Linked DNA regions of Homo sapiens: all the other regions are linked to region 1. Evidence: promoter capture Hi-C in human tissues and cell types (Jung and others, 2019). All regions are on one chromosome and are shown on one strand. The core of a region is centred on a gene start or on the middle of the fragment in contact, and the rest is flanking DNA. Distances in the headings are between cores, read along the strand shown.

Region 1 (4,106 bases), core at 906-3,405:
GCTGATCTGTAGCTGCTTTCACTCCAAGGATGAATCCTGGAAATTGCAGTTAGCTGAGTTTGCATAACAAAGAAAATGCAGTAGACAGCAGGCAGTTTGAGAACAATCATGATTGGGGAAACCCTCCCTGGTAAGGATCTTGTTTATCATGATCAATAGCGAAGGGTTTGGCCAAGGAAGGCACTCAATAAGGTTCGTACTGGTTGAAAGAATGAGTGAATGAATGAATGAAAGAGCAGGCTTCACAGAGACAAAAATAAAATGTTCTTTGTTCTTCCTTTTGCACAAAAACTGGCCCCGATGCCCTTACTTAAAGGCAAATAAATCTCTAGAGATCTAAATGGATTTTTTTAATTGCCATTTTGCATTTTTAAGATCTTCAGATCGGGTATAATACATCAGAAAGGAGTCCCAATAAATAAAGGAATGCCATCCTTTGTCTGCTCTTTTCAAATTGCATTTGCAATGAATGTTATCAGCATAGCAAACTGTCTACGCAAAAAAGTGTTATTTTTGAAGGCTAAATTTGATCCAAGATGAAAGTAACTTTTAAAAATTGCATCCTAGTTAAAGATATCAATATCACACAATTTTAAAAAAGAACTATTTGTATTCTACTCAAAGAGACAACAGTATATAACATTGGTTTCTAAAACAATATTTTCTGAACCCTTGGCTGTGTACTGACATCATATGCTGGGCTGAACTTTGCATATGTGACTCAAGAGAGAGAAAAGAGATGTATTCCCATCCTCAGTCTCTGCTCTACTGTAGAAGAGTACTGCAAGCTTCTAGAGACCCAGGTTTGTCTTAATTCTTGGTGATTTCAAGTCTAAACTTAAGATGGTTTAAAGAGTCTAACACAACATTAGAGTTTAGCTACGTAGATTTGTACTTTTAAATAGGACATAATGCTCTGTAGTTTTTTTTTTTAATGTTACGTTGATAAATCGTTCATTATTACAATTTTTAAAGTCAGAGGTATTGTAACGGGATACATTAACTACCCAACTTATAAAGACTTAAGTGTTTTCTCCCGTTCGCTCTTTTGGCTTTTCCTTTCTGGTTAAGAAACTTTCATTCTTTTGAACCCTGCAATTTCTTGGCTTTACAGAGCCCCAAACCCCAAAGACACCAAGATAAGACGGGCAGGCCGGTATGGGGAGGTCCCACAATGACATCAGCATTTGGAACAATTCAAACCTTCACCATCTCTTCTCAACCTCCTATGTCCTCGCCCCCCGTAAAAGATGCGCAGGACCTCGATGGACGAGCCCACCCCTGACCCTCTCAAGGAAAGACAATGCCAGGCTGGTTTTCGAGTTTATTGTCGGCACGCTCCCCCGATGGCAGGCAGCATCCGAGGCGAGCGCGCCTGAGCCTGGGCGCTCGGAGGACGAGGCCAGGTGCATCGGGCGCATCGTCGTCTCCCAGGCGCGTCCCGCTCGCCGCGAGGGAAGGCCGGGGTTCTTCCAACCGAAGAAAACCAAAACCGTCAACGCTCAGCTCCGAGGCCCGCAGGAGGCTTTAAAAATGGCCTCCTGACGACACTTCCTGCTCGGCGCGGACGGTAGGAGCCCTCGGAGGAGGCATCCTTCATAACGCTGGGGGCGGGGAGCGCAGGCCGGGCCAGCGGCGCCACACGAACGGCCCCGCGGGACGCTGCCACCCCCGCCTCGGTCGCCCCGGCGCGTCGGCCGAGTCCGCGGGGTCGCGGCGCACAAAGGCGAGCTGGGGGCGCCGGGCCGGACCCCGACCCTAGGCCAGGCCCGCGTACCTGCTCAACGCGCGCCAAGCCGCGGCCCGGGCCCCCACCCCAGCCGGTGCCCCACGCCCACCAGCCGGAGCCCGCGTTCGGCCTACCCGGTGCCACTTGCCACGACGCCAGCCCTCAGCGCGGGCACGCGGGGCCGCGGCCGCTCGACCCGCCCCGGCCTGGCCCCGTCAGGCCCCCGCCCCGCGCGCCCCCACGACCCGGCCGCAGCTGGCGCTTCGGTCACGTACACGCGGATCCGGGGGCCCTCGCCCTCCCGCTCAGCTACTTACCCGGCAGGCCGGATTCGGGTGCCAGGTCCCGGCGAAGGGGCGTCTACACCGCCGGCCGCAGACCGCCGGCGCCGCGCCCGCTGTAGGTCCCTACCCGGGGGGCGGAGCCCGCGCCAGCCCCGCGCGTGCGCAATGTGAAGCGGCGGCGCGGCTCCAGCGAGGCCGGCGCCTGAGGTCTCTAAGGCTGCGCCCGCCCCCGCCGGGCTTCTAAGCTGTCCAGAGCGGGGAGCCTCAGACCCAGCCGAGCCCCACTTCTGGGCTTAGAGCTTGACCCAACACGTTCGCACCGTAGCGAGCGAGGTCCACATTTAGCCATGCCGCAGGCAAAAGAAGGATTCGGCTTCGGTCCTGGCCCAGTCTGCCATCCCGGGGCGCCTGCCTTGTACCGGGTCCCGCGGAGGGCGGCCTTGGCGCCTGCCTCCCTGGAGCCTGCAGTCCTGCAGTGGGTGAGTGAAAGCGAGAGAAGAGGAGCTCAGGTCCTCAGCCTCCAAACTCGTCTTCTTGGAGAGCTTCAGTGAAGGAGATGGCCTTGAAGTCCTGGGTACAAATCCTGACTCTCCCTACTCCTTTACATCTTAGCTGCTGGACCTTGGCGAGAAAGTCCCCTGACCTCTCTCAGTGTCTTCATTTCTGAAGACGGGGAAGGTCGTATGTGAGGCGCAAAGCCTCCTCTAGCAGTTGGGCGTTGCGAGGGTCAGAGGGGACAATGACTGTGGGAGTCTGGAGAGGGTGTGAGCTCATTTAATGCCAGAGTTTCTTTCCTGCCTCCTGGACTTCGGTGCTATTTTGGGCGAGCCAACTGCCCTCTAGATACACCTGCATCTACGGTCCGGAAGGAAGACATATTTAGAATAGAGCCTCTAAGAGGAAAGAAGAAGACCATATTGCCAGGTCCCGCACAATCAGTGACTCCCCACAAAGTGAAACAGCTCTCCAGCAGGGGCAGGTTGAGGCATGGGAGCAGCGTCACTGGGAAGTACAGTTTCTTCGGGATGAACAGCTAAAGTTTATTTCAAAGCTCTGGAGGCGGGGGCGGGGCAAGGCTGGTTTCCATCACCTTCCTGTTGGCGGCCAAAGGTCGGCGTGCACGGACAGCGGCCAGTATGCTGCACGGAGGAGATGTGGGCCTGGGCAGTACTGCCACACGGAGAAGCGGAGTTGAAGAAGACAGGCTCAGCCACAAGTCCAGCAGCTGGGCAAAACCTCCACCACTAAAGTATCAGGAGCTGGGCAGAGAAAATAGCAGCCCAGAGAGCAAATCCTTCTTCCTGCCCTAGGCTGCAGTGCTCCTAACCTCGGTCCTGATCAGGGAGCTGCTAGGGTCCTGGTTTTCTATCTCCTAGGGCTCAGAAAAGCTAAGGAACCTCTTCTCAGAAAAACACATTTATGTGCAGATAGCACCTATCAGAGAGAATATGCCAGAGAGTTCAAAGTCTCCCTCAAGAGTAGGGTCAAGTTGGGAAAGGCATTGAGAATCCAAACTAGGAGCCACTGCCTGAAAATCTCTAGTGGCAAACAGAGCCACATCAGGAAAAACTATTAATTCTAAGTATTGGAGAATCTGAGGTCTAGACATTAGAAAATTGTCCTAAACTTTATAAGGAGAGGCAACTCTCCTTATAACTTCTACTCATGCATCACAGTTCTGCCCTCTTAAGTCACACAGAATTGATGTAAGGTACCTGTGGGTCTCCTGGGAGTTTTTCTGAAGTGAGAACTGGTTATAAATCCCAGTTCGGCCACATAGAAGTTGTGAGCCTGTCTGAACCTCAGTTTCTCATGTAAAATTCAGTGAAAAATAGGTCCTTCCTCCCAAGGGGGTTGTCAACATTAAACAAGAGAAAGCAAGTCAGGACTTATCACAGTCCCTGGCAGATAGAAGTGACTGTTAACTTACTCTTCAGTAGCCCAAATTCAGGGAGATGAAATGCTTTGTGGAGTGTCTGGAAATGGAGTGTTTACAGCCTGAAAAAGGGTCAAGGAAAAATAGAAACTACTTCAGCAGAAACCTTTAAGGCTGATGTCCCTAAAAGTCTTTTGATGCTTGCAAATGTGAATCA
Region 2 (4,106 bases), core at 1,086-3,585, 940 kb after region 1:
GCTTTCCGCAGAAGCTCCTGCTGGCCTAGCTCGGCGGGGCGGGAAGGCACTAGCTGGGGCTGGGCCACCAGCAGCACCGCGCCCAGGAGCAGCGCGGCCATGCTGGACACCACGGTGGCTTCACTGGGCCGCGCGCCGCTGGGTCATGAAGTGCCGCAGCAGGGAAGCCTCCTAGTCAGTGGCACATGGGCGTTTCAGGCCTTCAATTACTAGGGAACAAAAAGGGAAGATATTAACATATAACAAATACAGGGATAATTCAACTAACAACTCTGTAGCCACTCTGTAGTGAGGCCTATATTCACCTCCCCAGGACTCTCAGTTTCTTATCCTATACAGGAGCCGATGGCAAACATTTTCTGCAAAAGTCCAGAGAATAAGTATTTTAGGCTTTAGGGGACATACTTTATGCCAACTCCAACTCCAACCGTGCTATTATAGATGAAATGCAGCCATAGACAACACACAAGGGAATGGGTGTGGTTGTGTTCCAAGAACACTCTATTTATGGGCACTGAGTGAATTTCATATAATTTTCACGTGTCATTAAATATTATTTTCCTTCTTACTATTGTTATTTTTTGCAATCATTTTATATGTTTAGCTGGCTGCATACAACCAGGCCAGGTTTGCCTCCCTAGTCAGAGCATGCTAACCCTTGCTATAAAGGAAAGGGTTGGGAAGACCCTTTGGAACTCAGCAAAAATCAATAAAATATCTACTACTCACCAGTCCCTGGCAAAGGGGCAGGTGATATAGAAGCAGGCTTTGTTCCTGCCCCCACTCTTCCAGCCAGGGGCTCCTAATCTAACAGAGCATGTGAATTAGTATGAAAGATTGCATGATTAGTCCCAATTCTTCACCTTGTGTCCAACTCTTGAATTGGCCTTGCTACTAGCATATGAGCAGATGTGACAACGTATCAGTCCCCAGCCTGGCTGCAAGAGGCCTTGTGTGTTTTTGCTCACCCTCTTTCACTATTGGCTTTGCCATGAGAAGAATATGCCCTGGCTAGCCCATGGTCCCAGAGGGAGGATGAAAGACACACAGAGCCATCCCAGCTCATGAGTGAAGATGCATGATTGTGGTTTTAAGCCCCTGAGTTTTGGAGTGGTTTGTATTGCAGCGGGAAATTGGCAAAAGTTAATTGACGCAGCCTGACTGTAGGCATCAGGGAGATATATGTTATGATTGTAATTTTGGTAGGGTACTATGAAGACACATGTTCATTCATTTTGCCTAAAATAATTGGGGATGGTTTCACAGTGGAGGAAACATTTGAAATAGGCCTGGAGGGATAAACAAGTGAAATTACTACAAAGTGCAAAAAAGCCTTCATTTGTACAAAGCTTTACTATTGATAATGTGGTCTCATACTATATTCAGCTATTGTCACTACAACCCTACACTGTAAGGTAGGAAGGCAAGGCAGATGTCACCGCCATTTTTTTTTTTTTTTTATGGAGTTTTGCTCTTGTTGCTCAGGCTGGAGTGCAATGGTGTGATCTCAGCTCACCGCAACCTCCGCCTCCCCGGTTCAAGTGATTTTCCTGCCTCAGTCTCCCGAGTAGCTGAGATTACAGGCATGTGCCACCACGCCCAGCTAATTTTGTATTTTTAATAGAGATGGGCTTTCTCTATGTTGGTCAGGCTGGTCTCGAAATCCCACCCTCAGGTGATCTGCCTGCCTCGGCCTCCCAAAGTGCTGGGATTACAGGCATGAGCCACTGCGCCTGGCCTGTCACCACCATTTTATAGAGGGTAGTCTTGTCTAAGGACACAATTCTATTAGTCTATTTCAAAATTTAGAGCCCAAATTGAAAACTCTAAACTCAGTGTTCTTTATCCACAAACCACATCTTTTCCACAAAACTTCTCCTCTTTACCTATTTAAGATTTATAACATTTAGGCAGTAAAGGACACAGGAACTGCTGGCCTAGATGCTGTGGGGTTCCACAAGACAGACCAGTCAAGGGTTTATGTTTTCAAGGAGCTGATACTCATCAGTCTGTGTTTCACGCTATCCCCTAAAGAGGAGATTAGTTGCTTTCACTTGAGTCATCTCTGTTAAAACACATTAAGGGAAGCGTAAGAGACAGGCCTGGCTTGGGGACTGAGGGATTTACAAAGCTAGTAAAAATATTCTCCATCAAGAGGACTCATCATCTTTTGTACGGTAGTTTCAAAATTTACTTCATTAGTTTAAAACTTGTCCAGAATGAATAAAGGAAGAACAAATTCCAGGACATCCATTTTTATGATCAACCAGCTAATCTACCTTTCTCAGATATTGTTATCTTCTTTGAAAAACATATTAAAGAGCAAGTAATCAAATAGATGGAAGGTTTTAGAGAACCACAGTGCACTGGAGAAGGGACCTGAGAGATCAGTGATGTAACTCTTTAAGAAAAAATCAAGAATGCTTTAGAAAGGATAGCCAAGAACGATGAGGTTTCAGGTTGGTTCTACCGATTGGTGAACTAAATTTAACAGGCCAATTTTTTTAGTCAAGTGATGGTTTCAGGGTGTTTCAGCTGAATTTCATTTCCTTCTCAAGTCACCTATGTGGTTCGACCAAATGTACCAATTGTGCTTGGCTCTTACATGTTTGAGATGTGAGAATGTATGCAATTGTATGTGCATGCTTGAGTGTGTCTGTATGTGTATGCATGCATGTGTGTGTGTGTGTGCAGGTATAACAGGTAGGTCAAGTGAGAGAGGGACTAACTACTACCCTTTAGAGAGCTATACTGTGTGTTGGTCACTGCTATCACCATCTTATAGTTCCATGTTCAGACTCAGGGAACAACACATTCATATTATTTGATACCTAAGTGTAGAGGCAGAGGCCAGATCTGAAATTCATATTATCTGACTGTTTATGCTCCTTCAACTCTAACCTGAGGCATCCTGGTTAGTGTAGTGTACATCTGAGGTTTCTTTCCTGAAGGAGAATTACCAGCAGACAGTAGAGAAGAAACTAAATATAGTTTGTCCTTTATGAAAGAAAATAACAACAACGTATTGGGAAGTTAAGTAGCTTATAAGCTCCTTGTTTGTATTTTAATCCTTTCTAAAAATGTATTTACTTATGTCTAGACCTTTTTCATTCAAAAATATTTGAGGCTAATAGAGAAAGAAATTAGCTAATGTCTTATATACACATATGCAAGTATATACGCACACATATACATACACACATACTATATATAGCATATATATCATGTGTATACCCCATGTGTATCTTTTATGTGTATATGTAAAAATGTGTATAAGTACATATGTGTTTGTGTGTGTAAATGTATGCACACATATATTCATAGCTAAATATAGTATAACCTGTTTTATATTACATACACACTGTGGGCATTGGGAGCCAACTTCCTCTTGTGGTTTTGTAATTTGGACTTCCCAGTGGCACAGAAAGGATTTCTGGTCCTTTTTGTAACACTCTCAGAAACAAAAAGATTCCCAAGCTCAGGTGAACCTGTAAGCCATTCCTGTGTGCCACCTTGATCTTGACAATGAAGTTATAAACATCAGGGAAGAAGGGAGTCACTTAGTCCCTGCCTTTCACACCCCAAGATGACTTGCCCAGTGTCACATAGTAAATCTGTTCCTAGGACTTTTGGCTCCAGAAGTCCAGTTCTGTAGTCTAGTTGCTGTTACTACTGTCTTCCGAGTAAGTGGTTGTAATGTAAAATAATGACAATATTTTTGGGATTCCATAGAAGAAAAACCCAACAAAATCTACCCAGCAATGACAACTCCCTGGCCACCAACTTCCAGTGTCAGCTGACACACAGGGTATGTGTAGTACAGGGTCAAACTTGCTCATTTGTTCTGTTCAGTAGAAGGGTCCAAATGAATTGCACAGGCCCTGGAGTCAGGATTCCTGTCTCTAGTTTGGACCTTGGTCAAAGTGACTTAACCTCTCTTAGCTTCAGTTTCCTCATCTGTAAAATGGTAATAATTCCACCTGCTTCAAATGATTACTTTGAGACTGAAATGAAACAATGTGTGTCAGGACTGTCCAATATAAATATATTGTGTATAACATATGCATTCAGACATTTTAAAACATATATTCTACATAGCTTAATAG
Region 3 (4,106 bases), core at 431-2,930, 720 kb after region 1:
TTTAGCTTGGCAATATTTTAGTTGTTAACATTATGATATAACACCTTCTTATAGGGCATTAAATGACAATTCTCTCTTCATCTTGTGCTTTTCTTAAGGAAAAAATTAGACAAAAGGACTCATGTCTAGTATCTTTAAGGCCAGCATTTTATCCAAACTGCTTGACAGGACATTGCCTTAGAGAGGACTGTTCATATGGGTTTTAGTAATCTAAGTCAAAGTCCATGCTTCTTATCCATGCTCACTGAAGCATGTTGCACAGCCTGCGTTCAGAGGCAGCCACATTCTCAGAAATAGGCTAAAGAGCCTCCGAGAAGCTGACAGCAGCTCCTAGACTTCCCAGACCCTTTCTACAAGAACCTGGTGATTGCAATGCAAATGGGTCATAGATGAGAAATAAATGTAGTGTAGTGTCTGGTAGCTCCACTGGTCATAGAATAATAGGTGGTTTTCTTTTATGTCTCCTTCCGCCACCCAAATTTACTCTCTCTGAGGAAAATAATCACTAAACATTTGAGGAAATCTCATTAGCTTGGAGCCAGAGGACCTGCATTCTAGCCCTGCCTCTAGAAATTGCTATTTGTATCATAGGGACTGCCCGGGTGATGTTTCTGAACCCCCATCAACTCTCTTGATGTATAAAATGAAGAAAAAGTCTACTCTTCAAAGTAAATAGTCTGTATGACATCGTTCTGCAAATTCGACCATGCCAAACACGTTATTATTATAATTATTATACTTACATGATTGCTATTCCCTTCATGAGGTGTGAGGGGAACATATTTTAGTCCCCGTTCTCAAGGAGTTATGACCTTGAACTGGATAAAGTCACGTGATACAATGGATGAAGAGATGAAATCTAACCCCATTTTAAATGCATCTCAGAAAGCATAATTATAGTCTTTAGTCTCCAGAAACAAATGGAGTAAAAATCCTCTTTTGTATGAGGATTGTCCTATGGTCAATGTATGGCCAAACTTACCTTGATCTTGGTTATACTCAATGGAATGGTCTGGCACAATGAAGCTTCTCCATACCTAGTTTTCCAGCATGATTTATGGGACCGTCTTCAGACATACTAAATTTCAGTTCCAAGTTGGAGTCCCCATGTGCTTTTCACATGAGCCTGCCTTTGCCTCTGTGCCTCGTGCTCTCTGTTTGAAATAACTTACCCTTGCCATGTGCTGACTGGCTCTGATCATCTCTGCCATGGCTTTTCCCCTTCTTCTAGAGCTCATTGTCTTCTCTCTACCAAAATAATCCTTTTCACATTGTGACAGGTTTGTTCCAAAAGTTCTTTATTTTCTCTGATAGATGATAACTTTTTTTTTTGGCGGGGGGGGATGGAGTCTCGCTCTGTCACCCAGGCTGGAGTGCAGTAGCACGACCTCGGCTCACTGCAACCTCTGCCTCCCTGGTTCAAGCAATTCTCCTGCCTCAGCCTGCCAAGTATCTGGGACTACAGGTGTGTGCCACCACACCCGGCTACTTTTTGTATTTTTAGTGGAGATGGGGTTCCACCATGTTGGGCAAGCTGGTCTCGAACTCCTGACCTCAGGCGATCCACCCCCCTCGGCCTCCCAAAGTGCTGGTATTACAGGTATGAGCCATCGCACCTGGCCGATAGAAGTTAACTTTTTAAGATCAGGAACTATGTCTTATTGATCTGATGTTTTAGTTCCTTGTGAACCCATGTTTTGAGCACATGCATCTATACTGAATGCCAGTATCTGAGTGGCTTGCAGCCCTGCCCTAATGGGATACGAAGGGGAGCTGGACATAGGAGATTGAAGCATGTTCTTCATGGGATACTTATTTTGCCTGGTGGGCAGTCTAATGTTTAGCTGTTTAACTCAGAACCAGGGGATTCCTCACATGGGGAACATATTTATACTGGCAGGATCCTGTCGCTCTTGCCTGCACCCTGTCCAGTTTATGCCTGCTGGACCATCAACCTGATGCTGGGAGTCCAACCTTGTGTTTTCCTTGGCATCCCTGGGAAAACCCAACTGGGTTGGGAAAAGCCAACCCTTGTTCTTCAGAGAGAAAGTGCAAATTTCATCCACCGCCATAACAGGAAAAGGTTTAAAGATTTTTACTTACAGATCCTGGGCAGGGGAGGGTGCAATGAGTCTGAAGGGAAGTCCTTTGTCCCTGAGTCACACAAGGCAGGAAAGAAGTCACATAGAGTGAGAGAGCACACATGTGGCAGTGAGCAATGTACATGAGGGAATGGGGTGTGGACCACTTTAAGGTCACAGGGAAAGGCCTGGATGGTCTGTTTAAAGGAAATGGCTGGAAAGTGGGGAGCCCAGTCTGCTAGTGGTTATCTCCGGCCACCACCTTGAACCATATGAGTTTGGCTTTAGAATTGGAAACTATGTCAAGGGTGGCTGAGTCCTGCTTCTGGTATGAGCAAGTTAAATTTGTATTCAAATTAGATGCCAAGACATAAAATTGTAAGAATGTGCTACAGGCCCCTGGTTTATGGTGAATCCTTAGCAAAGTTCCAGAGAAAGAAAATAAATAAATAAACCAAAAAGAGCAAAGGAGAACCGTCAATGGGGTAGGTGGTTCAGAGGAAGGAGGCATGGGTATGAGGCAACTCTACAGCAACACTGAGGAAAAGTAGATGTGTTTTTCACCTGGACATAGATGTCTGTAGGGTCAACAGGTAGAAGGGAAAGGACTGTATTTGTCCAGTTTGAGTCCAGCGGCCATACCTATGACTGACAGATAGAAGTTAGCCAGCATAATTGACAACTTTCATGGTTGGGAGTTTCTCACTGTGCAAATAGATCAAATGTGGTTTGGGCAATTACAATGTGGAGACTTTGCTAATGGAGTTAATTGCTGTTTGTGAGTGGTGGGAGATGATTTCTACCCCCATAAAATTCTTTCTGTTCGTAACATCCTATTTTTCTGCAATTGCACATTCTATGATTCTCAGATAAATGATTTCTGAGGGAGAAAAATGGGGCATGCAAGAGAGAGAGAAAGAAAGAGTTTCATGTGAGATTGACAAGGAAGAGTGCCCTATGCGGACTCCTGTGATTCTGTCCTATTTCTTAATTTATTAAGCTTATTGCTAAGATCTATGACCAGGCTTTTTGCACTGGGGACTCAGTAAGATTTGAAGTGACTAACAGCTGAACACTTTGTTCAGGTCTCTTCTCAATGCCACCCTCTGGAGAGGCCCTCCCTGTCCGTGCCTTCTAAAGGGGCACTTCTCCATCACCCTGTGATCCTTTACCCCATCTGAGATTTCTTCATAGCACACAATCACAATCTGAAACTTTATCAGATACCTATTTATTGTTCGATTTCAATCTCTTTCAATATAGAATGTTAGCTCCAGGAAAGCAGGAACTTTGTATATTTTGTTCACCTTGATAGCCTCAGTTCCAAAAATAGTACCTGACACATGGGCAGCATCCAGTAAATGTTTGTTGAATGAATGAATAAAAGAAGGAGCTCAATTTACTTTAGCTTGCCTTAGGCTATTTGCCATGCTTGAAGCAGCTGGTGTACTGACACCAGATTCTGCTAACCTTTCAATAACCCCAAATAAAAGATGACTGCCACTAGCTTCCTATGTTCATACTAAAAAGATTACAAAAAGAGTGTTCCCTCCTTAAAATATACCTTATTGGACACTTCCCTACATCTGTTCAAATTACATCATGCAGATACAGATTTTGCAGTTAGACTTCTAAGTCAGGGTTCCCATTATCCCTGGACCCTACTTCATTGTCTTGCTTTGATCAGATCTTTTTGCCTGCCAGAAAATAAGTTCCCTGAGAGAGCAGAAACTGGCCTATTCCATTATTATTGCATCTGCAATTACGAGTGGCCACCCAATAAATAACCATTGTTCTATAAATATAAAATGAATAAATGGGGAAAATAATTAAATGAATCGTTACAAGACCTTCCTAGTTCATCTCACTTGGTTTGTCTTTTCCTCAACTCAAATTATCATTTACTCTCAAACCAAACTGGTATTTCTGAAACAATATTTTGTACATGTCAGTTTTACGTATAAAAGCTTGCCATGACTTCCCATTGCCTACCGAATTAACCATGCATTATGGGTTAAATTTTTG

What was found. Contacts are between HindIII fragments. The study calls those that stand out against the background at their distance.
Region 2: a fragment that was not itself captured here is called in contact with the fragment with the promoter of ZNF518B in region 1 in 2 of the 25 tissues and cell types used here (dorsolateral prefrontal cortex and lymphoblastoid cells).
Region 3: a contact is called between a fragment that was not itself captured here and the fragment with the promoter of ZNF518B in region 1, in 1 of the 25 tissues and cell types used here (H1 embryonic stem cells).

What each region holds. Positions count from the first base shown.
Region 1 is chr4:10,455,271-10,459,376 of GRCh38, forward strand. It overlaps ZNF518B (zinc finger protein 518B), which reads right to left and starts at 2,156. Exons shown (of 3, transcript NM_053042.3): 1 at 2,047-2,156. RefSeq lists enhancers at 1,222-1,281, 1,264-2,079, 1,342-1,501 and a silencer at 1,632-2,271. The HindIII fragment of the contact is 10,057 bases long and covers 1-4,106 here.
Region 2 is chr4:11,399,905-11,404,010 of GRCh38, forward strand. HS3ST1 (heparan sulfate-glucosamine 3-sulfotransferase 1) reads right to left here. Exons shown (of 2, transcript NM_005114.4): 2 at 1-209. The coding sequence starts at 101. Among named protein-coding and RNA genes, the nearest start is that of HS3ST1, 27 kb to the right of the region's middle. The HindIII fragment of the contact is 8,106 bases long and covers 1-4,106 here.
Region 3 is chr4:11,177,819-11,181,924 of GRCh38, forward strand. No RefSeq gene overlaps it. Among named protein-coding and RNA genes, the nearest start is that of MIR572, 190 kb to the right of the region's middle. The HindIII fragment of the contact is 3,768 bases long and covers 1-3,564 here.